Linked DNA regions of Homo sapiens: all the other regions are linked to region 1. The links are contacts of gene promoters, found by promoter capture Hi-C in blood cells and fetal thymus (Javierre and others, 2016). All regions are on one chromosome and are shown on one strand. The core of a region is centred on a gene start or on the middle of the fragment in contact, and the rest is flanking DNA. Distances in the headings are between cores, read along the strand shown. Region 1 holds the start of ID4 (inhibitor of DNA binding 4). Region 2 overlaps MIR548A1HG (MIR548A1 host gene). Region 3 overlaps MIR548A1HG (MIR548A1 host gene). Region 4 overlaps MIR548A1HG (MIR548A1 host gene). Region 5 overlaps MIR548A1HG (MIR548A1 host gene). Region 6 has its middle 3.2 kb from the start of MIR548A1HG.

Region 1 (3,993 bases), core at 45-2,544:
AGACGGGAAATGCGCGCTCACCTGGACAGCGCGGCTCAGCGGCACAGAATGCTGTCGCCCTGCTTGTTCACCGCGCCGGCCTGGAACAGCAACCGAACACCAAGGGAAAGGTTAGCAGGCGCAAACAACGCGCTCGACACGGTCCTGGATTGTCCTCGGAAATCAGGCTGGCGCGCCGACGCCCCCACCCCAGCCTGTAGCCGGGGGGGCCCCTCCGGGCTCAGGCGGGACTTGACAGCCCAGGGCGCCCACAGCCCCGAGTCCCGCCCTGCGCGTTCTCCCGGACCCGCGCTCGCCGAGCCCGGCCGGCTGCTGGCGGCCCGGGGGAGCCCGGAGGAGCAGGGGGAGGGGGCTGTCATTCCTGGCCCGCCCCTGCCCGGAGGACGGTGAGCGCCCGCGTCCCGCCACCACGCCACCAACCTCCCATCCCCCGCGGCGTCCGCCCACGGCCGGCGCCCGGCCTCTCACCGGGTCGGTGTTGAGCGCAGTGAGCGGGGTCCGCGGCGGCGCGGCTGGACAGGTCCCGGCCGGGTGGTGTGGCGGCGCGGGCGGTGGTGGCTGCCTCAGCAGGGCCGGGTGCGTCTCCAGCGCCAGCTGCAGGTCCAGGATGTAGTCGATAACGTGCTGCAGGATCTCCACTTTGCTGACTTTCTTGTTGGGCGGGATGGTGGGCACCAGCCTCCGCAGGCGGCTATAGCAGTCGTTCATATCGCACTGCAGGCACAGCGCCGGCTCGTCGGCCGCCGCCTCGGCCGCCTTACAGCGCGCTGCCGCCGCCGCCGCCGCCGCGGCTGCGGAGCCACCCAGGCTGTGGCCGTGCTCGGCCAGGCAGCGCAGCGCCAGCTCCCCGCCGCCGCAGCCCGACGGCGCCTTGCGGCCCGAGGGGCGCACCGGGCTCACCGCCTTCATCGCGCGCGCCCTGCGCTCTACGCGAGCGAACCCGCTGGGGCGAGCGAGGGAGGCAGGCAAGCTCCGGGCCCCGTCCGCGGCCGGCTCCGCTCCCTTTGCCTCCGCGCCCGGCGCGCTCGGGGCACCGCGACACTCCCGAGCCCAACAATTGACGGGAGGGTCGCTCTGGGTTTTACGAGGGAATCTTTGCTCAGTGGGCGACACTCAGCCCGAGCCCAAAGGAAAAAAAAAGCAAAAGCACCGGAAGAAAAGTAGCCCACCCGGGTGTCCTAGTCACTCCCTTCGGAGCTCCGACTAAGCCCGATCGCGGCCGCCGCGCTCCCCTAGCCCGGGATCACCCCACTCCCGGTACTACTCACAACCGCGCCTCCTCCACTACGCTCTCGCCCGGCCCGCCGCGCAGCTGTATTTATAGAGCCGTGCGCCCCGGGGGCGGGACCAGCGCGCGGGCCGGGTCGCAGCGCGAGCCGAGCGGAGCCCGCTGGGCGCGCGGGCGGGGGCGCGGAGGGAGAGGCGAGGGCGGGGGCTCCGGGCGGTGCTGGGGGGCGGGGAGTCCGGCTACCCGAGTGGAGGAGTGGGCGGGGGGTCTGGAGTGGCCAGCCAATCAGGCGGGCAGTGCCACCTCGGGGAATGACGCTCGGGCCAATGGGAAGGGCACTCCATTCCGTCAACGCTGTGGGTCGGGGTTCTGAGAAAAGAGAGCTGAGTGGGAGTCGGGCCAGGCTGATGTGTGCCCAAGGGAGGGGAAAAGAGAGAGCGAAGTTCCTGCGAAGAACTGCGGGAATGTGCGGCCGGAATTCACTCTCCACCGCCCCCCTTATCCCGACTAGGCTGCTGAGGGAGCGCCTGGGCCCTGCTCGCGGATACCCTGCCACTCCTAATAGCACGGCGCCCAGGGACCCTCCGCCACCCATCACTCCATCCGTGGGATTCCAGTGCCTTAAGAAAGACGCGCTGTTCAAGAAGGCACGTTCATTCTGTTCTATATTTCCCTCCTCCGTTTCATTATTCGCCTTTTCACATTTGCCGAAACCATAATGATGGAATGGAATGTGTAGCCTTTCCGTTTTCTTTTTAAAAAATGCTAAAGCTTAGCAAAAGTAGAAAAAAAAAGAAGGAAAAGAATGCCGAATCGAATGCAGGTTTTTGGTGAAGGGAATATAAATAAAACAAAAACGTGGGGGGGGTTCTTTTACCCCATCTAAATGCAAAAGTGGGCTCAAGAAATGCAGTTGCCTTGCGCATTCAATTAGAGCACGTAAAGATTAAAAATGCATGGACACGGAATATTTAAAATTCCATTATGACATATAATATTAATCTGTTTTATGTAAAATTCATACCTGTAACTTAATTTAGGCCATTAATGCACAGCTTCACGTATTAGTCAGCGTACCCCGCTTTAAATAAGGTGATGAGAATGTCCAGAGTCGCCTCCTTTGACAGCAAAGCATTAAAATTCACACTTCCAGTCTCTGGGATCCCGCTTGGGCCCCACCCTGCAAAAAAAAGCCTGTTAATTAAGGGCGTTTTTGTGTTAGATTTCTTAGAGAAAAGCTGTCCTTCAAGGGTTCAAAATAAAATTGCACAATGAGCTTTGGTGGAGCATTGTGTGTACCCTTCAAGAAAAAATTGAGCCCTTCAGATGAGAAAGGTGCATAAAAATTCTCAGACAATGGGGAAATGAATTTTGAGTGCCTTCACTCTACAAACCCTCCCACCTTTAGACACGCTTGGAGATGAATTAACCCAAGAATTTTCTTCATTCGTGTACATGACATGGATTGGTGTCTTCATTTTCATAGATAATTGAAAGAAAGAGACATGGACCTCATTTCTTCCTGTCTACCCCTATATGGACTTTTTCTACATCCATTCCCAGAACTGAAATACCTGCACCAGGCAGATATTTTGTTTAGCTATGTCAGTGCTTTATGACTATCGCACTATTCCCCAGAGCACATTCCTTTCTCCTGATGAAATGAGGAGCAACTATTTAATTCTGGTTTCACAGGTAGATGCAATAACCCTCCTCTCCCCTAATCCTTGTATGTTACTGCTTCTAATAATTGTTTGGAAACAAGTGCCATTCTCATTTATTTATGTGCATACGTAGATGGTCTACATACACATTAATCGAGAAAATCAGAATTATGAAACTCAGAAGGGCTTTCTTCTAAAGACAGGCATAGTCATATACATCATTAAATTAATGCAAATACAGAGAAAATGTTGTAATTTTAAATGGGAAGTCGGTGAAGCCAGCACTACTGGTTGTAAGCTATTATCTTGGAGCCAGTCATATGAGCACAGACGATAATAATAAATGGATATATGTACAGATGTTTTGTTCCATTGATCTTTCTCTTTCCTAGAGTTTAAAATTTGCTTCCAAATTCAAAACCCAAGACTTTCCTCTGTTTGGCAAAATAAAACTATGCTAATATGCCCAGGACACACTTACATTTAAACATTTTACATATCCTAACGATTAAAATTAAAATTTAAGTTTTGAATACGTAACACAAAGGAAGAATCATATCGACCTTTTTGGAATTTGCTAAATCTCAGAAAGCCATGCCTTGGGTGTGACAAGCGCCAAATGCCTAAGTTTCAGGTTTTGTTGGAGATGCTCTGTGTGACTGGCTTAAAGTTAGAAAGACTGAGTTACTCTGTGTGGGGTGGGGTGGAAGAGGTGGTTTCAAAGGAATGTACCTCAGCCACAAGATCAAGAATACCCAGGAAAGATGTGATCCGTAAATCCTGCTAGCAGAGTAGGCAGAGGCAGTTACTGTGCTCCTTGTTTTGAAGGTTGGAAGGCATGAAGACATTAAAAAATTAAAGTGCTACCATATACTATGGGAATAAGGAATACAATCCTGCACGTTTTGGTCCATGAAACCAGAGAGTACTAGGGGCTATGCAATGTATGTTTTTGTATTCTTAGACATAGACACTTACATGACATCAAAGCTGCAATCATGGAAGATTCCTGGCACTGATAATTCAAAACAGTTTACCCAATTATCACTCAGATTTTGGATAAACCTTACAAGCTATGTTATTTCTACTGTGCAGAGAAGG
Region 2 (3,973 bases), core at 522-3,021, 1.3 Mb after region 1:
AGGTAGCATGTGCCTGTAGTCCCAGATACTTGGTAGGCTGAGGCATGAGAATCACTTGAACCTGGGAGGCAAATGTTGCAGTAAGCTGAGATTGCACTCTGCACTCCAGCCTGGGCAACAGAGTGAGACTCTTGTCAAAACAAACAAACAAACAAAAAAAACCAGACGAGGGATATTGAGACATATATATACCTTAATCCATCAAATGAATCAAGTGAGAAGCTTATGCAGCTTAACATTTATAATTTCATTGCAATTTTTATTCTAACCTTCACCAGGAATTTCAAGTTTATATATTACTTTCTCGGAGCCTGAAAATTAAATTATTATTAAAAGTAAGACTAATTTCATGTGGATCTTTAAAGACGAGTGTTAGAAAATAAATATTAAGCAGAATGAAATATTATAGTTGTGTTTCATTTATTAATTTACCAAATATTTATTGAATGAACACATGAAGTGACCAGAGTACTGAGTTGGGTGCCATGAAAAGATATCCCTTATCCTCAGTGCATTGTAATACAGTAGAAAAATGAAACTAAGTGAATGGATTTGCACTTAAAAATGGAAAGAAATATATCAACAGATGCAAAATAACATACAATTCTACTTCAAACTTCTGCACACTATTCAACATCCAATTTACAGGATAAATAAATTCAAATACCTCATAATAAATAGTATGCTATAACTAAGAGATTCATTGCAGATTTTCTTTAAGCAACAAAGTCTGCTTATACATATTTCTACTATAATTCTCTGGAAGCTTGATCTCTCACTCTCTTCCACACATTTTTTTTCTTTACATTGCTGACCCTTACCCCAGTCCTAGCCCCTTATTTTGGTGAACAGACTTAACCTTTACATCACAGAGAAAATAGAAACTGTCTTCCTTCATCTAATCAGCTTTTCCTACTTCCTTTTGTCCAATGAAGGAGGCATGTCATTGCCAATCAAGGTTTGGCCCTTTCAGATATATGCTGGGGCTTACTCCCTTCACTGCTTTCAGACTTTGCCCCTTGGATTTTCCCCTTCTTTGCTTTGGGACTTAAATCTACTGCCTTAATTCTCACTGCCAGTTTCACTGACATTTCCCCAGCCGTTGCTTGGTTGGCGGGAGTTCCTCCTCTAATCATTTCCTCAAAATGGGCTGACATGAATAATGTCTCCTGTGTTCTTGCACATTGAAATCTGTTTTTCTAGAATCTTTCAGATGTAAAAGATATTTTAACCACATATAAAATCTTTGGCTCATTCTTTAAAAAAAAAAATCTTCTAAGGGTAGATTCATATCTTTAAAGAAGTCCGACTCCTGCCCAACTTCATCCCATCATAAGTGACTTGATATTTTTACAGGCTCATTCAAAATATTCATTCTTTATTCTAATCATTTTAGGATTTGTCTTGACTTCTCTAGAGCAATTTTCTGGTCCATTATAAGCTCTTTAAATACGTAGATTCATGCCTTATTTTATATTTGAAAAGTTTTCTTGAATTGTATTTTTAAATATTGTATTTTTAAATATTTGTTCTGTTTTTTTGTTTCGGTTTTCTCTTGGTAGACTCTATGTGAATGTATTTGATCTCCTTTGCTCGTACTTTATTCCTATAATTTTGACTCTAATCCTCTTTATCTCTGTATTTCTCGTTCATTTCATGTCTACCTCCTTTGTCCCTCACTGTACTTTCAATGGTGTCTACTCTTCCTTGTGCTGAATCTAATTTATTAGTCTTTACTTCTGAAATAATTTTGATTTGTACTTTTATTTCTTTCATGGTTTCTACCAAATCCCATTTTACCTTCTCCTTTAATTTGTTCCTCATTTTCTGTTGTCCAGCCCTGAGTCCTCATATTTCTGCTTTGTATACTTTCATTAAAATAACTGTTATTGTATGGCAATTCCTCAAAGACCTAGAACCAAAAATACTATTTGACCCAGCAATCCCATTACTAGGTATATACCCAAAGGAATATAAATCATTTTATTATAAAGATACATGCACACATATGTTCACTGCCACACTAGTCACAATAGCAAAGACACGTAATCCACCCAAATGCTCATCAATGATAGACTGGATCAAGAAAATGTGGTACATATACACCATGGAATACTATACAGCCATAAAAAGGAATGAGATCATGTTCTTTGCAGGGACATGGATGAAGCTGAAAGCCATTATCGTCAGCAAACTAACACAGGGACAGAAAACCAAACACTGCATGTTCTCACTTATAAGTGGGAGCTGAACAATGAGAACACATGGACACAAGGAGAGGAACAACACACACTGGGGCCTGTCTGTGGGGCGGGTTGGGGAGAGAGCATCAGGATAAATAGTTAATGCATGTGGGGCTTAATACCTAGGTGATGGGTTGACAGGTGCAGAAAACCACTATGGCACACATTTACCTATGTAACAAACCTGCATGTCCTGCACAGGTATCCCGGAACTTAAAATTAAATTACATTTAATTTAATTTAAAAATAATAATAACAGTTATTACTCCATTAAGTTTTTTATTTTTAATTCATGGGATGTTAAGTTACAAGTTTTATCTGCATCTTGGCAATAGCTTTCTGGTGCATTTCGTTCTTCTATAGGAACGTTTTTCTATTGTTTTCCACAATTTAATAGATCTCTGTATAAATGCTATGCCAGCTCTTTTTTGTTTACTCATATTTGAATGAGTTTTATTTTCCTTAACCAGCTAGACAAAGAATTCTAGTGCACAGAAGGGAAGGACTGAGGACATCCAGTGTTCTAAGCTTCACAGATAATGGGCATCCTCCTCTGTTACAACAGACTATTTCCTTTAAAAATGATGCCTCTGTGCAACCACATTTTCTTTGCCTTTAATGCTCAAAAGAACAAAGCTGGAGGAATCACATTAGCTGACTTCAAATTATACTACACACCTATAGTCACCAAAACAGCATATACTGGCATAAAAACACAGAGACCAATGGAACAGAATAGAGAACCCAGAATCAAATCCACACACCTACAGTGAACTCATTTTGGACAAAGGTGCCAAGAACATATACACTGGGGAGAAAACAGTCTCTTCATGAAATGATGCTGGGAAAGCTGAATATCTACATGTAGAAGAATAAACACTAGACCCCTATCTCTCGCTGTGAACAAAAATCAAATCAAAGTGGATTAAGGACTTAAAACTAAGGCCTCAGACTATGAAACCACTACAAAAAAAATTTGAGGAAAATCTCCAGGACATTAGTTTGGTTGCACAGGCAACCAAAGCAAAAATGGTCAAATGGGATTACATCAAGTTAAAAAGCTTCTGCACAGCAAAGGAAACAATCAACAAAGTGAAAAGCCAACCCAAAGGATGGGAGAAAATATTTGCAAACTGCTCTATAGTTTAGAGCTCAAACAATTCTATAGGAAAAAAAATCTAATAATCCCATCCAAAAATAGGCAAAAGATTTGAATAGACATTCCTCAAAAGAAGACATACAAATGGCAAACAGGCATATGAAAAAGTGCTCAACATCATTGACCATCAGAGAAATGCAAAACAAAACTACAATGAGATGTCATCTCACCCCAGTTAAAATGGCTTATATCCAAAAGGCAGGCAATAACAAATGCTGGTGGAATGTGGAGAAAAGAAAACACTTGTACGCTGTTGATGGGAATATAAATTAGTCAAACCACTATGGAGAACAGTTTAGAGGTTCTTCAGAAAACCAAAAATTGAGCTACCATATAATCCAGCAATCCCACTGCTGAATATATACCCAAAAGAAAGGAAATCAGTATATCGAAGAGATATCTGCACTCCCATGTTTCTTGCAGTACTGTCCACAATAGCCAAGATTTGGAAGCAACGTGTGTTCATCAATGGATGAATGGATAAAGAAAATATGGTACATATACACAATGGAGTACTGTTTAGCCATGAAAAAGAATGAGATCCTGTCATTTGCCACAACATGGATGGAAC
Region 3 (3,653 bases), core at 113-2,612, 1.3 Mb after region 1:
GATAACTTCTCTAAGCTTCAGAACCCTTGCCAATAAAATCTGGGTAATCCCTTCTTTGCTTGAAAGCTTGGAGGCAGACCTTTCCCATTTTAGATCCAAGCTTCCTAGCCATGTGTTCAAGACCCTACACAGTCTGGTTCCAATGCCAACATCCTGGACAGCCCTCTCCTCCCTCCTCCTCCTGCCCCGTGTAATGCAGCCCTGACTCCTGATCCATAAACATTCCCTCCTGTACGTATGCATCTCTGTGCCCCAGTTCCAGCCTCTCTTTCTAGATTAACATCCTTCCACCAGAAGTTCAGACCCAGTTCCCAGGGCACCTACTCCATTAAGCCTTTCCTGATTTTCTCCAGCTACAATTTTTCCCTTCTATTCACTCCTTCTTACGAAACATTCACACTCTTTGTGGTATTAGGAATGATTTATATACAGCTGTATTCTTCTCTACCAGATGTAGGCAAAAACCTCAGTTTACTCATATTTCTATCTCTCTCTCCTCTCCACCCCAAGGTCCAGATAGAGTCTCAATTTTTAATAGATGTTCATTAAATATTTCTTAGGTTAACAAAAAGCATATAAATTTACTTCACTATGCTGGTCTCTCTTTATATAAAAATGACTAGAGGCCAGTGTGGTGGCTCATGCCCATAATCCCAATACTTTGGGAGTCCGAGGCAGGAAGACCACTTGAGGCCAGAAATTCAAATTTAGCTGGCCATGAAGGCACATGCCCACAGTCCCAGCTACTCGGGAGGCTGAGGCAGGAGGATTGCTTGAGCCCAGGAGGGTAAGGCTGCAGTGAGCTACATTTGCACCCCTGCACTCCAGCCTGAGTGACAGAGCAAGACTCTGTCTCTAAAAAAAAATAAAATAAAATAAATTAGTATAGGAAAGAGTGATCATATTGGCTAACTAGCTTGAGATCACCTAAAAAAAAGGATAGCAAATATTTATTACAAAATTAATGATGCTATAGATCAGCATAAGCCATGGGTACAGGAACATCAACACCTCGTAACCAGGCCCCTGATTCTGGTTACTAAAACTTTGGGGGAAGGTAATGTATATGTCCTGCCACTGGTCACCCACCTTCATCCTCTGATGACACAGTTTTTGGTCCATCTCCCAGGCCAGGCTTACTCAGAATGGTGCAAGATTATCTCCATCTGCAACAACTGAGACAACCTCAGCCTCTTTTGCTACCTGGAACTTCAAACTCTCTCTGACATGATAAGAAAGCACACTCACTACCGCAAGTATTGGGGGGAAAGGAAAGGAAACTTAAATATGTGATGAAATATTAACCTTGAAATCAGATGAGGTAATTAATACATTTTAATGTGCCTCTTTTATAAGATGACATATTCTTACCCAGTAAATAACATGGCTGCCAGGAATATATTTTTGTTCTTAGAAACCAAATACATTTTTTTTTAAGTTCCGGGATACAAGGGTGGGATGTGAAGGTTTGTTACATAGGTAAATGTGTACCATGGTGGTTTGCTGCACCTATCAACCCATCACCTAGGTATTAAGCCCAGCATGCATTAGCTATTTTTCCTGATGCTCTCCCTTCCCGCCATTACCCTCTGGATAGGCCCCAGTGTGTGTTGTTCCCCTCCCTGTATCCATGTGTTCTCATTGTTCAGCTCCTACTTATAAGTGAGAACATGCAGTGAGAGACCAAACACCTTTGATCATAAAAAGTCACACATGACTTTGAGTTTTACAAATCAGTATCCTTCCACATATGGAATAAAATATCCAAAAAAAGGACTGGGGTCAGGAGACCTGTATTTGCAGCCTCAAGCTCACAATACATATTATCATTTCAATTCTAGTTCTTGCTGCACAAGGCATAGCCCACAAGGCCCTCTCTATTCTAGTCCCATCTATCCCCAAGTTTTTGGTCATCTGACACATCGAGAAGCTCACCAGTCTTTGGACATATCAGACATCTTCTGAGCTTCATGCCTTAGCTCAGGTCGGACACTCTCTCCTTCCTCCTCTCTGCTTTCCTTCAACAGCTTCTGCCCTGAGTTCATTTCTGAGTGAATTATTTGCTCCTACATCTGTGCTTACATATGGCTTAATTTAGTACTTGAATATCATGTTTGGTTAGTTGAGTACCTATGTTATGTGGTTCTCACCCCCCCAAAGGATGATGATTTGCCTACTTTTTTTTTTCCAGAAATTAGCATAGTGTCTGACTCATAATTGTGTCCATTCAAACCTGTTCTTTGCTTCCATGGCATAGAATCATCACCTTAAAGTGTCTGTTCAGCATAAGACTAAGAATTTCCCAAACCCTCTATCATCTACATAGGGCCATCTAGGCAGCTCTCCCATGGAATAAGAACAGAAGTGATGCTTCCCTCTTTCAGGCCAAGTTGGTTAAGAATGGCTCCTTTTCCACACTCGGTTTCCCTTTGCACCAATGGGAAGTAGAGGATTCCAGGTCCTGGAAAGGCCACAAGGCAGAAGGAGTCGAAGACCTTGAGTTACTGCATGGACAAAAGCCTCCTTCAGCAGGAGACACCCTCATTAGACAGTTATATGAGCAAGGAATAAACTTCTACTGTGTTATCACCGAAATCTGGGGCTTTATTTGTTACAGAAGCTTTATCCTAACTATACAGATTAATTCTCAAAACTGTATATTTTATTTAATTAAATAATCCTGTGTAACCAACAATGGTTGTCCTTGTCCCTCTGAAGTCTAAATCACAAAGTACCAATAAAGGAGAAGAAAGAGAGTAGGAGGAGGAAAAAAAAAAAGGAAGGAAGGAGAGAGGCAAGGCAAAGAAAGGGAGGGAGGGAAGGGAGGGAGGAAGGGAAGGAGGGAGGGAAAGAAGATCTAAGCAATGAACAATTGTAGTCAAACTATCACCTCATATGTAAGTTGCCTATATCCTCACCATCAGTTGAGCACATTATAACCAAGTTATTCATTAATTGTGCTGCTATAGCACTTTGGGAGGCCGAGATGGGTGAATCATTTGAGGTCAGGAGTTACAGACCAGCCTGGCCAACATGGCGAAACCCCATGTCTACGAAAAAAAATACAAAAAATTAGCTGAGCATGGTGGCACACACCTATAGTCCCAGCTACTTGGGAGGCTGAGGCACAAGAATCACTTGAACCCAGGAGGCAGATGTTGCCATGAGCCAAAGTTAAGCCACTGCACTCCAGCCTGGGCAACAAAGCAAGACACTGTCTTAAAAAAAAAAAAAAAAATTGCTACCGTATCCACAGTGCCTAAAACATTCCCTGAGACATAGTAGACATCCCGAAAATATATGCTGACTTTAGTAAATAAAATTATGAATGAATACCATACCTTTTCTTTCTTACAAAATGACCTGAAGAAATCAAATCTCCCTAAACTAAGAGATCATGGTATTTAGTTAAGTATAAAATAATCTGTTGACTCTGACAGTGGAAAGAAACAACATATATGACTATTACAACATGCATCTGAATGCCTATGATGTGGCAGATGCCCTATGGGATCCATGTTCTCTGGCAGCTTTCTTCTAAAATAATAGCTTTTTGCTTGTTGTTAAAGAGCTGATATTTAATGGCTGGCTCTGCACCAGATAAAAGGCAGCATTTTCTCCCTTCTTATCCTAATCTCCAAAACAACTTACTT
Region 4 (3,865 bases), core at 580-3,079, 1.2 Mb after region 1:
GTGACATGCCCATGCATCCCAACCATCCTCTTACTCTCATGAGCATCTTTCCCTCTTCCTCTGGCCCTCCTCCCACCAGCTCAGGTACTGTAAGTTTGATAGGGAGAGATGACTGACTGCTGCTTTAGAGATATGTTTAAGGCACTAATATGACTCTAAGACCACTAAAACATTCAGTCCAAGTTCTCCCCTACTCCTCAAAACTTTGCGTAAAACACACCGCTCTGCTCTACACAGGAGAATACTTGGATACATCTTGTGTAAGTCATCATTCTCATATCACTTCAATATAAACGGCAAGAAAATTACAGAATGTCTTCCCACTGTCCACCAGCAACCTCTGGTGTACCTCAAACATAAGTAGAACTTAATGCCCCAAATACAGATGTTATTCAAGAAAGAACAAACCGGCCAGGCGCGGTGGCTCACGCCTGTAATCCCAGCACTTTGGGAGCCCAAGGCAGGCGGATCACTAGGTCAAGAGATGGAGACCATCCTGGCTAACATGGTGAAATCCTGTCTCTACTAAAAATACAAAAATTAGCTGGGTGTGGTGGCAAGTGCCTGTAGTCCCAGCTACTTGGGAGGCTGAGGCAGGAAAATCACTTGAACCCAGGAGGCGGTGGTTGCAGTGAGCTGAGATCACACCACTGCACTCCAGCCTGGCGACAGAGTGAGACTCCAAGAAAAGAAAGGGGAAAGGGGAAAGGGGAAAGGAAAGGAAAGGAAAGGAAAGGAAGGGAAGGGAAAGGAAGGGAAAGGAGCAAGAAAGAACAAACCTAGGAATCTTTCCTATGGTACACAGCTGGTTACAATACAGGAGCTAACACAAAGGGTGTGGCCCCATGGACAGGGGAAGAGCTACAATTCAAAAGAGAAATCTTGTCTACAGCAGTATTTAGCAGCTGAGAATCACAATAGTTCATGTAAACAAAATAGTTGGAACAGTTTGGAAAATAAGCAGCAACTACAATCAATTGCCAAACAAATAGACATGTGGTTCTGACAAACTGCCTCGTTTAGACAGCGAGAGCAGAAATCCAAGTCGAAGCCAAGGGGTAGTTTAAGCAAAGCCAGAGCAGAGGTCATGGCTGGGCTGCAACAATATCATTATACCTACAGGGTTTTTACATGATGCCCTATGTTCTGAACTTTTTTTCTTTCATATGTATCGAAACTTGAAAGAAACAAGCCATCTATTTTTAATCAATATTTTGATAAGCTATGTTAAATAATCACTCTTGCTTAAAGGCCACAGCCAAGTCTCATTAGCTGCTGTGTTTTCCCTTTCATTTTTGTTGGCTTGCTGGATTGCTTGGCAATTTTCACTAAACTTAGGTTAAGGAAAGAGAAACAGGCCAAACTTTTAAATCAGATGAAAACCTTTCACTCCTATTCTTTTAGAGCTTTCTTTCTGTTAAATTGTTTCTCCTGACTTAAAATAAGGTCTCGAATGAATATACCCATCATTATTTTAAAAATAATAATAATTGGTTGTTAAGAAGTAAAAAGCAAAAAGCCTGTATTTTATTCCTCTATCTCTCCCCTCAACTCAATGGCTATTAAAGGGCAATGATAGCCCCACGGAAACAGGAGTTCTTTTAACTGCACAAGAAAATGCATTTAAAAACCTAAACAAGCTAGCTGCAGCCATATCTTTGTTTGGCAACCTGAGTATTCTCTTCACTTAGCCCTGTTCATAGCAACACACAAAGGACCACTCTGCAGCCAGGGATAATAGCTGATCCCATAATCTGGCACTAACATTTAAAAAGATTAATTACCCTATTAAAATCTTAGACATTACTAAGAAAATCTTTGTATAAACCTTTTGACTCACAACAAATGCAGCCTCCTTGGTGCCTTCAGTTTGTTACACAATAAAGGTCCTCTCCCTCCCTTACTTGTTCACTATTATTTCCAACATCTTTAGGAATATCCAGATACACACACAGGAAAGTGCACTCACACTGGCACACCTACACTGAGCCACAGACAGCCAAAGCTGCTTCCCAGTACAAAAGTATAAAGTGGAAGTGTGGTTGGAACAGATAAAGTAAAAACTCCTCCCGTCTATAAATTGGCTGCTACAAAGATTAAGCGGCAGGGAAAAAACACTCCGTGATTCAAAGACTGCTGCTGTGTCAGAAACCGGAGGTACCTAAGAAGATTCAGGTTGTAATCCCCACACAAATTATATGCCCAGTATTCGGAATTATGAAGAGGGTTAAATTCTTCATGCTTGGTATCAAAGTTTCCCTTTAGAGTATAAGACTAGTGATTAGACTTTAAGGACACCTCAACATTTGTTTTATTTCCACAATGACTGTCAGCCTATCATGATTTCCTGTCTTCTCCATGACTGCTTTGTTCTCAGACGTCTTATCACATTTGCCAGGAGAACCCATTGAAAGTGGAAGACCAAGCACACAGGTTATAATTCATTTATGGTCCATACAAAATACTTAGCCAACTTCATTTTCTCCTTATCAGTTGCAACATTTCACTATGTCATCAAACAACCCTGATCAAATGATATCCTGAGAAAAAATTTCTGGAACATTATTGATAGTGCATTGGTTGAAATCCCAGCTCCACCACGTATTAGCTATGTGAGCCCCGGCAAGTTATCTGATAGCCCTCACATGCTCCATCCATAAGACAGTGATGAGAGTTTACACCAAACACATAAGGAAGTGGGGGGATGATGTGAGAGACAGCATGGAAAGTGCTTGGAACAGCACCTAATACATAATGAGTGATCAGAAAGTGTTCACTGTGGGTATGATTATCGTGGTTGGTAATCACTCCCAGAGTGATTTCAGAATAATAGAGGGGATGTTGTCCAAGCAAGGAGAAACTTTAAGAGTAACCAGTCCCTTATATTTTAGAGCTAGTAAGAAAGCAAAGTTTTGACAAAGTTAGCAACGAGGACACACAAACATGCTAACCTTCAGTTTTGTGAACAAAACTAATGGAACTAGAAAGTCCCCAAAACACACTTCACTTATCTTACTCTACCATCCCCACCTTCCAATAGTTGGTTCACTTTATCTATTTCTCCTTATACCATTTTCGGCTCTAGTTTCACCAATCATCTCAAAGAAACTCGAAAAGACTTTTCTATTTAAAAAAACACACACACGTGAGAGAAATCCACAAATGTAAATTTCAGGAAAGCCCAAAACTGCTCCAGCAATACTAGAGGATTCTTTGCAGAGAATGACCTTCACTAAACACCAAATCTACTGACACCTTGATTTTGGACTTCACAGATCAAAGAACTGTGAGCAATAAATGTCTGTCCTTTATAATATGAAGCCTAAGGTATTCTGTTGTAGCAGCCCAAATGCACGATGACAGTGACTTTCTTCAGTTCTACATTTCTTGATTTCTCAGCAGTTGCTATTTACCAGTCTCAGATATGCAGAAACTGTTAGCTCAGAAATTATAAGAACAGGAATGCGTGCACCAGAGTTTTCCTCCAAAAGCAGAGGAGAAATGAGATTTCAGCAACATGAGGGTCAGAGGGGAACTCAACACCAAAGCCTTTTCTGAAATGTACACCATTCTCTGAAAGATGTCCACATCACCACTTTTTTGAAATATATTTATACAAATAGGCTAGGGTCCCAAACTTTAATTCCAAATAAACAGCACCTTGTCACAAAGCCAGGCTCTACCCAAGGTTATCAGTTGCTTGTCAAAAATCTGATTACGATATCTATAGGAAGCATACACAGAAACCAGGAAAGATGGTTGGCCTCTGATTACTCCCCTGTGTTGCTTTGTTTTCAACTCACAGATCTGAAGCCAGCCCTCTTCATGGGAAGTTCTCCATTTTAAACGCATCAAAATCTATCAT
Region 5 (3,762 bases), core at 417-2,916, 1.2 Mb after region 1:
AAAAGTAATACCCACACTATAACCCCAACTAAAGTTGAAAGAGAGGGCTGATATGCATTGATGAAACACATTCCCTACATTCTCCTTCTCTCAAAAAGCTAAAGATCTTTTTCTACCGCTGGTTGATTTGTTGGGAAGACAGAGGAGAGAAGGGAAGGGTGACTGCGTGGATTGGAGAAACCGCCTCCTCGCTGAGCAATTTCACGTAGTTGCCCTCCCTCTAGTGGTCAAAGTAGAGATGGCAGCTTTCTGGTTCAGTCTTAAAGAGTCCGCCTGGAAGAAGGAATAGGGGTTACCCAACCCCCAAAGTTTTGCCTATCTAATTTGGAACCTCAATGCTAAGTTGTAAAACAAGTTGCCTTACAAAGACTTTTCCTTAATTAGAACATCTTGCTTGTTTATAATGATCATGGCACTTACAAAAGACCATATGTCTTTGAGACGCTGCTTGGCAAGACTTTTCCAATATTTACCAAATCTATTTTGTATCCCATGCTAATAATAGTCCAGTGGGTCCCCAGGCAGAGGGATGGAGACAGAGGACTTCTCGTTTCTTCTATTACTCAGTGTTCTGCCTTCAGAATGTGAAAGACCTCTCAGTTTCTCTGAAAGGACTGAAATAGAGCTCAAAGTTTCCCAAATGCTGTTATTTTGGGAAACGTTTGTTTCAAGGGCTAAATTGTCATCGTTTGACAAATCAACATTGAGCAATGCTCTGCACTTTGTAACACACACACTTTAAACTATTCCTTTAAAAGAAACTTTGAAATGAATGCCAAATCATTGTATCCACAATATAATTACGTTCTTTAGGTGGTAGCTTTTTAGTTCAGGAAGGAACAAGAGAGGTATATTCTGATCTAAGAGGGTGAAATTGATGTCTGGCATTGGTAGCAACTGTTCCGAGGTCACTCAGCTGGACTTTTCCTCACTGTGTAACCCCGACTGTGCTGGGTGTTTAAAAATAAATTGAGAGTGAGTGGATATGCCTACAATATCTGTCATCAACATAACCCCCCAAAAATAAGTAATCATTTTGTTTCATTTTGTTGATGTGGCAATAAAGAATGTGCTCAGTTTATTTTTTCACTCCTTAAGTCTGATTTTGGTCATCCAGGAGACACAGCCACCATCATTCATTTTGGCACAAAGTTATGTGGCAATTTATATAGAGACCTGGGAACTAACTGGTTAGGTTTGATGTTATCCAAGAGATGTTTAATTTATGTGAGTCTTTGAAAGTCAATCAGACATGTTTTTGTGTGCAGGCTACATGTTTTACACTAAGGGTCTCTTTTTTTAGTTGAGTTGTAATGGGGGAAAAAAAAAAGACCCGGAATTCTTTTTCTCAATAGTGATAACTCCACAGTTCTAGGTGGCATAATCCTTTATTGCAACGTATTCTATATAGTTTGAATAACTATTATTACCAAGTCTTTCTCCCTACTTGGGAAATGGTGGCATTATCATCTATTTATGAAGAGCTTTGAAATAGCTCATAGCAACAAGAAATGACCATTGAAAGTAGCTAGCACATATTGACAGCTTAACATGTACCAGCCAGTATTTAAAGGCCTTAGCCCTGTTAACTTATTTATTTCATAAAAGAGGCCTACTATGCAATGACCATTGATATCCCCATTAAACAGAAATGGACCTTCAGTTTCATGAAGGTGTCTCCACAGTATCTCACTAATTATGACAATATTCTTGTGAGACTCTTAAATGCTTCATTTTTTATATTCTTTATTAATAGCTATATTGTATACATATGACACAGGACTATGTTTCTTTTTTAAAAATGTATCTGTCATAGTTGCTGCCTTGAGTTCCTTGAGGGCAGAGTCTGTGTTTTAGTTCTTTAGATTTTCCTGTTATAAATCACTTTATTATGTGCAGTGCATGGCTTTTCTGAATCAAATTTATTTATATGTAAATTTACTACTGAAATTTTGCTAATCACTAGAAAGGTTTGTGCCATAAAGATCCCCTATTTCCAAAGAAGAAAAGAGAATTGCATTGGAAGTTTATGAAATAGCAATTAAATTTAACTTTGAGGGTATAGAACTGCTACCTTCCACTATGAAAATACTTTGGAACAGAGGATACTGAGGGGAAAGAAGTCGGAGAAAGTTCTCTGATGTGACTATGTACTTTTAGAAACAAAAAAAAAACTCAAAGTACATGTTTCAGTGCCAGAAAAATTAATAAAGGTGAACAGCAATCATGAGTCAGCTCCTGAGGGGCCTAGCTGTAACTCTAGGAAATTTGAATTGAAGCAAAACTTAGAGGGGCGACATATCTCTCAGGTTTTAGAGAACACCAAGACATCTATTCCCAGGACATAGAATACTTTGCATGAAATAATTGACTACATATACTATGAGGTTACTGTTATTTTTCAAACCAGTTTCCAAAACTTCAACTTAAGTTTTCTCCAAAGCACAGACATGCACCTACAAACACATCTGCTTCTTTTTTTCTTTTTTTTTTTTTCTTTTTTTTGAGATGGAGTCTGGCTCTGTCACCCAGGCTGGAGTGCAGTGGCCTGATCTCAGCTCACTGCAACCTCCACCTCCCAGGTTTAAGTGATTCTCCTGCCTCAGCCTCTCAAGTAGCTGGGACTACAGGCGCCTGCCACTACGCCGGCTAATTTCTGTATTTTCAGTAGAGACGGAGTTTCACCATGTTGGCCAGGCTGGTCTGGTACTCCTGACCTCAGGTGATCCACCAGCCTCAGCCTCCCAAAGTGCTGGGATTACAGGCATGAGCCACTGCACCTGGCCTGAATAAACCTTTTTGAGCAACTTCTCTAAGAGGGTTCTTGGTTGGAAACCAACCTCAAGGAAGCAAAGTCCTGCCTCCAAAAATGTGGCAGCCTAGGTCCACCAAGACATAAACACTATTGGCACAACATACTATTGAATAGATGTAGGGGTGCAAAGAAGGGAGAGTGTATCTCCAGCTACAAACATCCAGAAGGATTTCATGGAGAAGGTGGGCTAGTAGCTGATCACTGTAAAATGTTTAGAAACTTAAACATGCAAAGTTGGAGGAAGACCTTCCAGACAGAGTTAACCATGTGAGCAAAGGCTCCAATTCACAGACGATAATTTGAGAGTCATAGACAGGAAAAAATAATCCTGCTTGAAAGGGAATAATGGGAAGTGAGAATGGACAAGTAATTTTGGAATCAAGCTGAATGTTTCCATCTATTTGTATAGTGTTCTGTAGCCACTGCTTAAAACAAAGAACAGGCCAGGTGTGGTGGCTCATGCCTGTAATACTAGCACTTTGGGAGGCTGAGGCAGGTGGATCACCTGAGGTCAGGAGTTCAAGACCAGCCTGACCAACATGGCAAAACCCCATGTCAACTAAAAATACAAAAATTATCCAGGCGTGGTGGCATGTGCCTGTAATCCTACCTACCCAGGAGGCTGAGGCAGGAGAATCACTTGAACCCGGGAGGTTGAGGTCGCAGTGAGCCGAGATCATGCCACTGCACTACAGTCTGGGCAACAAAGCAAGACTCCATCTCAAAAAAAAAAAAAAAAAAGAAGAACAAAGTCAGGGTGAAAAAGCCTGATTCAGAAGAAAGCCCATACTGTGCATGCAACAGACGTTCAAATCATTCCAGGAACTAGAGGCAGAACAAAGAAAGAAGTACCTTCCCACACAACTGAAGGGAAAGTTCTGGGGACATTGATACCAGCAAGAAAATTAGGACAAATGCTACATAAGAGCTTGCCACTGTCCCTTGAG
Region 6 (4,187 bases), core at 988-3,487, 1.3 Mb after region 1:
TCACTGCCTTACAAGATACAATAATGTACATTTTGGATGGATTTAATTATTAAGTGTAAAAACTACACTCAGGAGACCCAGAAGAAATAATAAATATGTGAATTTATAATCTAGAATTTCAAATATCTTTCTAATCAATGATAAAGGAAAAAATAAACCAGAAAGAGAGGGAGACCAATTTTCCTACACTTTTGTATATCACTTACTCACATCAAAAACCACCATAAAAGGCCTGGCGCAGTGGCTCACGTCTGTAATCCCAGCAACTTGGGAGGCCAAGGCAGGCGAATCACCTGAGGTCAGCAGTGATTCCTGCTGAAACCCCGTCTCTACTAAAAATACAAAAATTAGCCGGATGTGGTGGCACACGCCTGAAACCCCAGCTACTCCAGAGGCTGAGGCACGAGAATCACTTGAACCCAGGCAGCAGAGGTTGCAGTGAGCCGAGATTGTGCCACTGCACTCCAGTCTGGGCAACAGACTGAGACTCTGTCCTCAAAAGAAAAAAAAAACTTTATGTTCCATTAGGGCAGGGGCTGTCTCTCTCTCATTTGCTGCTGAATGTTACACCTTCTGCAGTGCTTCACACATAGTGGGCAATCAATAAGTATTGATCAAATAAAAGAATGATCATTTACAAAAGAGTAAATAGAAATGACCATTAACACAGTTATGTTTTAAAAGTCCCACATGACTGGTAATCAAAGAAATGAAAGATGAAGCAGAGATAACACTTTATTCCCTCAACTTGGCATGTATGTCTTTTAAAATAATACTCACTGCTGTCAGGTATATGATGAAATGAGTACTCTCACTCACTGCTACTAGGAATCTGTTAGGTCAAAATTTGTCAAAATGTGCAAAAATCTCAAAAGTGTTTTGATCCTTCAGCAATATTTTCATTTCTGAGAATTTATTATGGAAAAATAATCTAAATAAACACAAAAATATCAATCTCCGCAATCCTGGTAATGCTGTAAATTGGAAACAACCTAATTGTTAAATACAGGGAATTGATTAAATAATTATATACATATGAAATAATGTTATAAAATATTAATATTTGTGATTTTGAATATTTAAGTATATGGAAAATTGTATGTTATAAAACAAGTTTAAGGATAAATCTATACGTATATATTGATTCCCATATTTTAGAAAATATATGGATATCTATACGTTAAAAAAAATAATATGTAGTCCAGGCGCAATGGCTCCTGCCTGTAATCCCAGCACTTTAGGAAGCTGAGGCAGTTGGATCACCTGAAGTCAGGAGTTCGTGACCAGCCTGGCCAACATGGTGAAACCCTGTCTCTGTTAAAACTACAAAAATTAGCCAGATGTGGTGGCACATGCCTGTAATCCCAGCTACTCCGGAGGCTGAGGCACGAGAATCGCTTAAACCCAGGAAGCAGAGTTTGCTAGTGAGCTGAGATCTCGTCACTGTACTCCAGCCTGAGCAACAGAGTGAGACTCTATCTCAAAAAAAAAATAAAAATAAAAATAAAGTGCATATTTTTATGTTTACTTGGATAGCGAAATATGCTTTTAAATTGATTTCCCAAAGAACTCATACTACTTGTATAATAAAACAAAAATAATAATTTTAAAAAACTTATCTTCACCATGCACAATGGCACAGCAGCTACACAGAGGCCACAGCAGGACGATCACTTAAGCCCAGGAATTTGAGACCAGCCTAAGCAACATGGAAAGACCCTGTGTCTTTAAAATTTTTAATAGTTTTTAAAGACTTCTCTTCTGTGAGGTTTGCAAGCTTTTTCATAGTTTGCAAGCTGTCATTTTAATATATTCTATTGATCACAAAAGGATTGGGGTGGGGAGAGATAGGTACTATAAACTGAAACCCCGCTGCTCTTAGGCAAACCCAACAATCCCAGCATATGTTGGGGTCAGTAGTGATACTCTCCTAGCCGGGACCTCCTGGGCTCACTCCATCCTACGCAACCAATACCCACCCTTGGTAACTCAATCACTGGCATCTAAAAAATGCTTTTTGCTTAGCTTAGAATATTTTGCCATTTAGATGAACATTTTTCATCAATTTTTCACTGAGTTTTTTTCTCCAGAAATGTGAACTGAAAAGTGAATTCATAGAAGAAAAATTGTTGAAAAAAAATTTCCTTTAGGATGTTTTTAGAGAATTTTTTAATCCTGAGAAATTTCACCTGCAGGAAAAGAAAAAAAATACTTAATTGCTTATTCAGTCCTATTTTCCTAAGTGTTCAGATCTTTTAATAACTTTAATGTATAGGACAGTTGCATAGGTAACATTTTAATATGACTCTGTGCATATGTGTACTACTTCTCAAAGAGGTTGAACAATTTTACATACCAGTAGTGTATGATATTTCTGGTTGCTCCACATCCTTAAAAACACTTGATGTGGTCAGTCTTTTTAATTTTAGCCATTCTAGTGGGTATGTAGTAATGTCTCATTGTGATTTTACTTTGCATTACCCTAATGTTTGGTGTGGTTGAACATTTTTTTCATGTGCTTATTTGCCATTTGTATATCTTCTTCGGTGAAGCCCCTCAAGTTATTTTTTCAGGACTGTGCTTTGTTAGAACGTTTGAAGCCTATGAACTTAAGAGAAATTCATATATCTGGTATTCCAATAAAATATTTGGAGATACCCTTCAAAAACGAGGTGTTCAGATCCTACTTCAAGCTTTATTTTTCATAGCTTTCCTGCCTATAATTATCATGTCATCATTATCCTATCTGTATATAGTCAAATAATATTGTCCTGAGAATTAATGTAAAGCAGATTCCTTCCTTCTGGCTACTGGATTTCCCTCTCAGATACTAGTTGGATGCCTGCCCAAGAGGAAAATATCAGGCATTGCAGACAGGTAATCCTGAGCACACAATCTCATTCTATAACTGAAATCTAAAATGCTATACACCAAGGAACATTTCATAAATCTTTCCTCTAGTTGAGAATTATAACCTCTCTTTATGACAGAGAACATGTGTATCCAGTGCTGGAGATTTTATTCTATGCAATAGGAAATAAATAAATAAAATTGAAAAGCATCCAGATTTGAAAAGAAGAAATAAAACTGGCTTTATTTGCAGATAACACGACTGACTCTGTAGAAAATTCTTTGGAAAAACAACTTTGAAAAAAGAGCCAGAGGGTTCGTACTGCCTAACTTCAAAGCTTTTACAAAGTTTCATTAACCAAGACAGTGTGGTATTCGCATAAAAATAGATCAATAAATGAATTAGAATAGAACATAGACCCACATATTTAGGATTGTTGACAAAGGTGCCAGGACAATTTAAAAGAGAAAGAATAATCTTTTCAATAAATGGTTCTGGAACAACTTGGTATCTATATGCACAAAAATGAACCTTGATTCTTACCGCTTAGTATATACAAAATTTAACTCAAAATAAAACATAAGCCTAAATACAAGAGTTAAAATTATAAAACTTCTAGAGCACAATAGGAAAAAAAATCATAGTGACCTTAGTTTGGCAAAGATTTGGATACAGGAATAAAAAGAAACCATAAATTAGACTTTATCCAAAGACACTATTTTAAAAAGGAAATGAGAAACCCTAGACTGGGAGAAAATCTTTACAAATAATGTATCTGTTAAAGGACTGATATCTGGAATACATTTTTTAAAAACTCTAACACCACCACCACAATTTTATTAAAAATGGGCAGAATATTTTAATTAACACTTCAAAAAAGATATACAAATAGCAAATAAGCACATGAAAAAAATGTTCAACTACACCACTACATAACCACTAGAATGGCTAAAATTGAAAAGACTGATTATATCAAGTGTTTTCAAGGATGTGGAGCAACCAGAAATTTCATACACTACTAGTGAAAATGTAAAATTGTTCAACCTCTTTGAGAAACAATTTCTTAAAATGTAAATATGCAGTCACCATATGACCTAACCATTCTACTCCTAGCTATTTATCCACGAGAAATGAAAGTATATGTCCACACAATATATACATGACTGTTCATAGCAGCTTTACTTGTAGTAGCCAAAAACTAGAAACAAGCCAAATGTACATCAATAGATAAATGGATAAAAAATTGTAGCATATTCTTACTCAGCAATAAAAAGGAATGAGCTCAGCCTGGCCAACATGGTGAAACCCCGTCTCTTCCAAAAACACAAAAATTAGC

What was found. Contacts are between HindIII fragments. The CHiCAGO score rates a contact against its expected background, and 5 or more counts as called.
Region 2: a contact is called between a fragment that was not itself captured here and the fragment with the promoter of ID4 in region 1, in 1 of 17 cell types (endothelial precursors). The highest score is 6.3, in endothelial precursors.
Region 3: a contact is called between a fragment that was not itself captured here and the fragment with the promoter of ID4 in region 1, in 1 of 17 cell types (endothelial precursors). The highest score is 6.5, in endothelial precursors.
Region 4: a contact is called between a fragment that was not itself captured here and the fragment with the promoter of ID4 in region 1, in 1 of 17 cell types (M0 macrophages). The highest score is 5.3, in M0 macrophages.
Region 5: a fragment that was not itself captured here is called in contact with the fragment with the promoter of ID4 in region 1 in 6 of 17 cell types (erythroblasts, endothelial precursors, M0 macrophages and 3 more); the score reaches 7.1 in erythroblasts.
Region 6: a contact is called between a fragment that was not itself captured here and the fragment with the promoter of ID4 in region 1, in 1 of 17 cell types (endothelial precursors). The highest score is 7.1, in endothelial precursors.

What each region holds. Positions count from the first base shown.
Region 1 is chr6:19,834,671-19,838,663 of GRCh38, reverse strand. It overlaps ID4 (inhibitor of DNA binding 4), which reads right to left and starts at 1,294. Exons shown (of 3, transcript NM_001546.4): 1 at 469-1,294; 2 at 22-80. The coding sequence starts at 909. The coding sequence ends at 36. The HindIII fragment of the contact is 2,827 bases long and covers 1-2,001 here.
Region 2 is chr6:18,574,697-18,578,669 of GRCh38, reverse strand. The region is part of intron 3 of MIR548A1HG (MIR548A1 host gene); the gene reads right to left. Among named protein-coding and RNA genes, the nearest start is that of MIR548A1, 4.9 kb to the right of the region's middle. The HindIII fragment of the contact is 2,005 bases long and covers 769-2,773 here.
Region 3 is chr6:18,537,738-18,541,390 of GRCh38, reverse strand. All of the region lies in intron 3 of MIR548A1HG (MIR548A1 host gene), which reads right to left. Among named protein-coding and RNA genes, the nearest start is that of MIR548A1HG, 17 kb to the right of the region's middle. RefSeq lists an enhancer at 3,355-3,653. The HindIII fragment of the contact is 2,520 bases long and covers 103-2,622 here.
Region 4 is chr6:18,611,589-18,615,453 of GRCh38, reverse strand. All of the region lies in intron 4 of MIR548A1HG (MIR548A1 host gene), which reads right to left. Among named protein-coding and RNA genes, the nearest start is that of MIR548A1, 42 kb to the right of the region's middle. The HindIII fragment of the contact is 4,543 bases long and covers 1-3,865 here.
Region 5 is chr6:18,592,882-18,596,643 of GRCh38, reverse strand. The region is part of intron 4 of MIR548A1HG (MIR548A1 host gene); the gene reads right to left. Among named protein-coding and RNA genes, the nearest start is that of MIR548A1, 23 kb to the right of the region's middle. The HindIII fragment of the contact is 4,262 bases long and covers 1-3,762 here.
Region 6 is chr6:18,517,481-18,521,667 of GRCh38, reverse strand. No RefSeq gene overlaps it. Among named protein-coding and RNA genes, the nearest start is that of MIR548A1HG, 3.2 kb to the left of the region's middle. The HindIII fragment of the contact is 916 bases long and covers 1,780-2,695 here.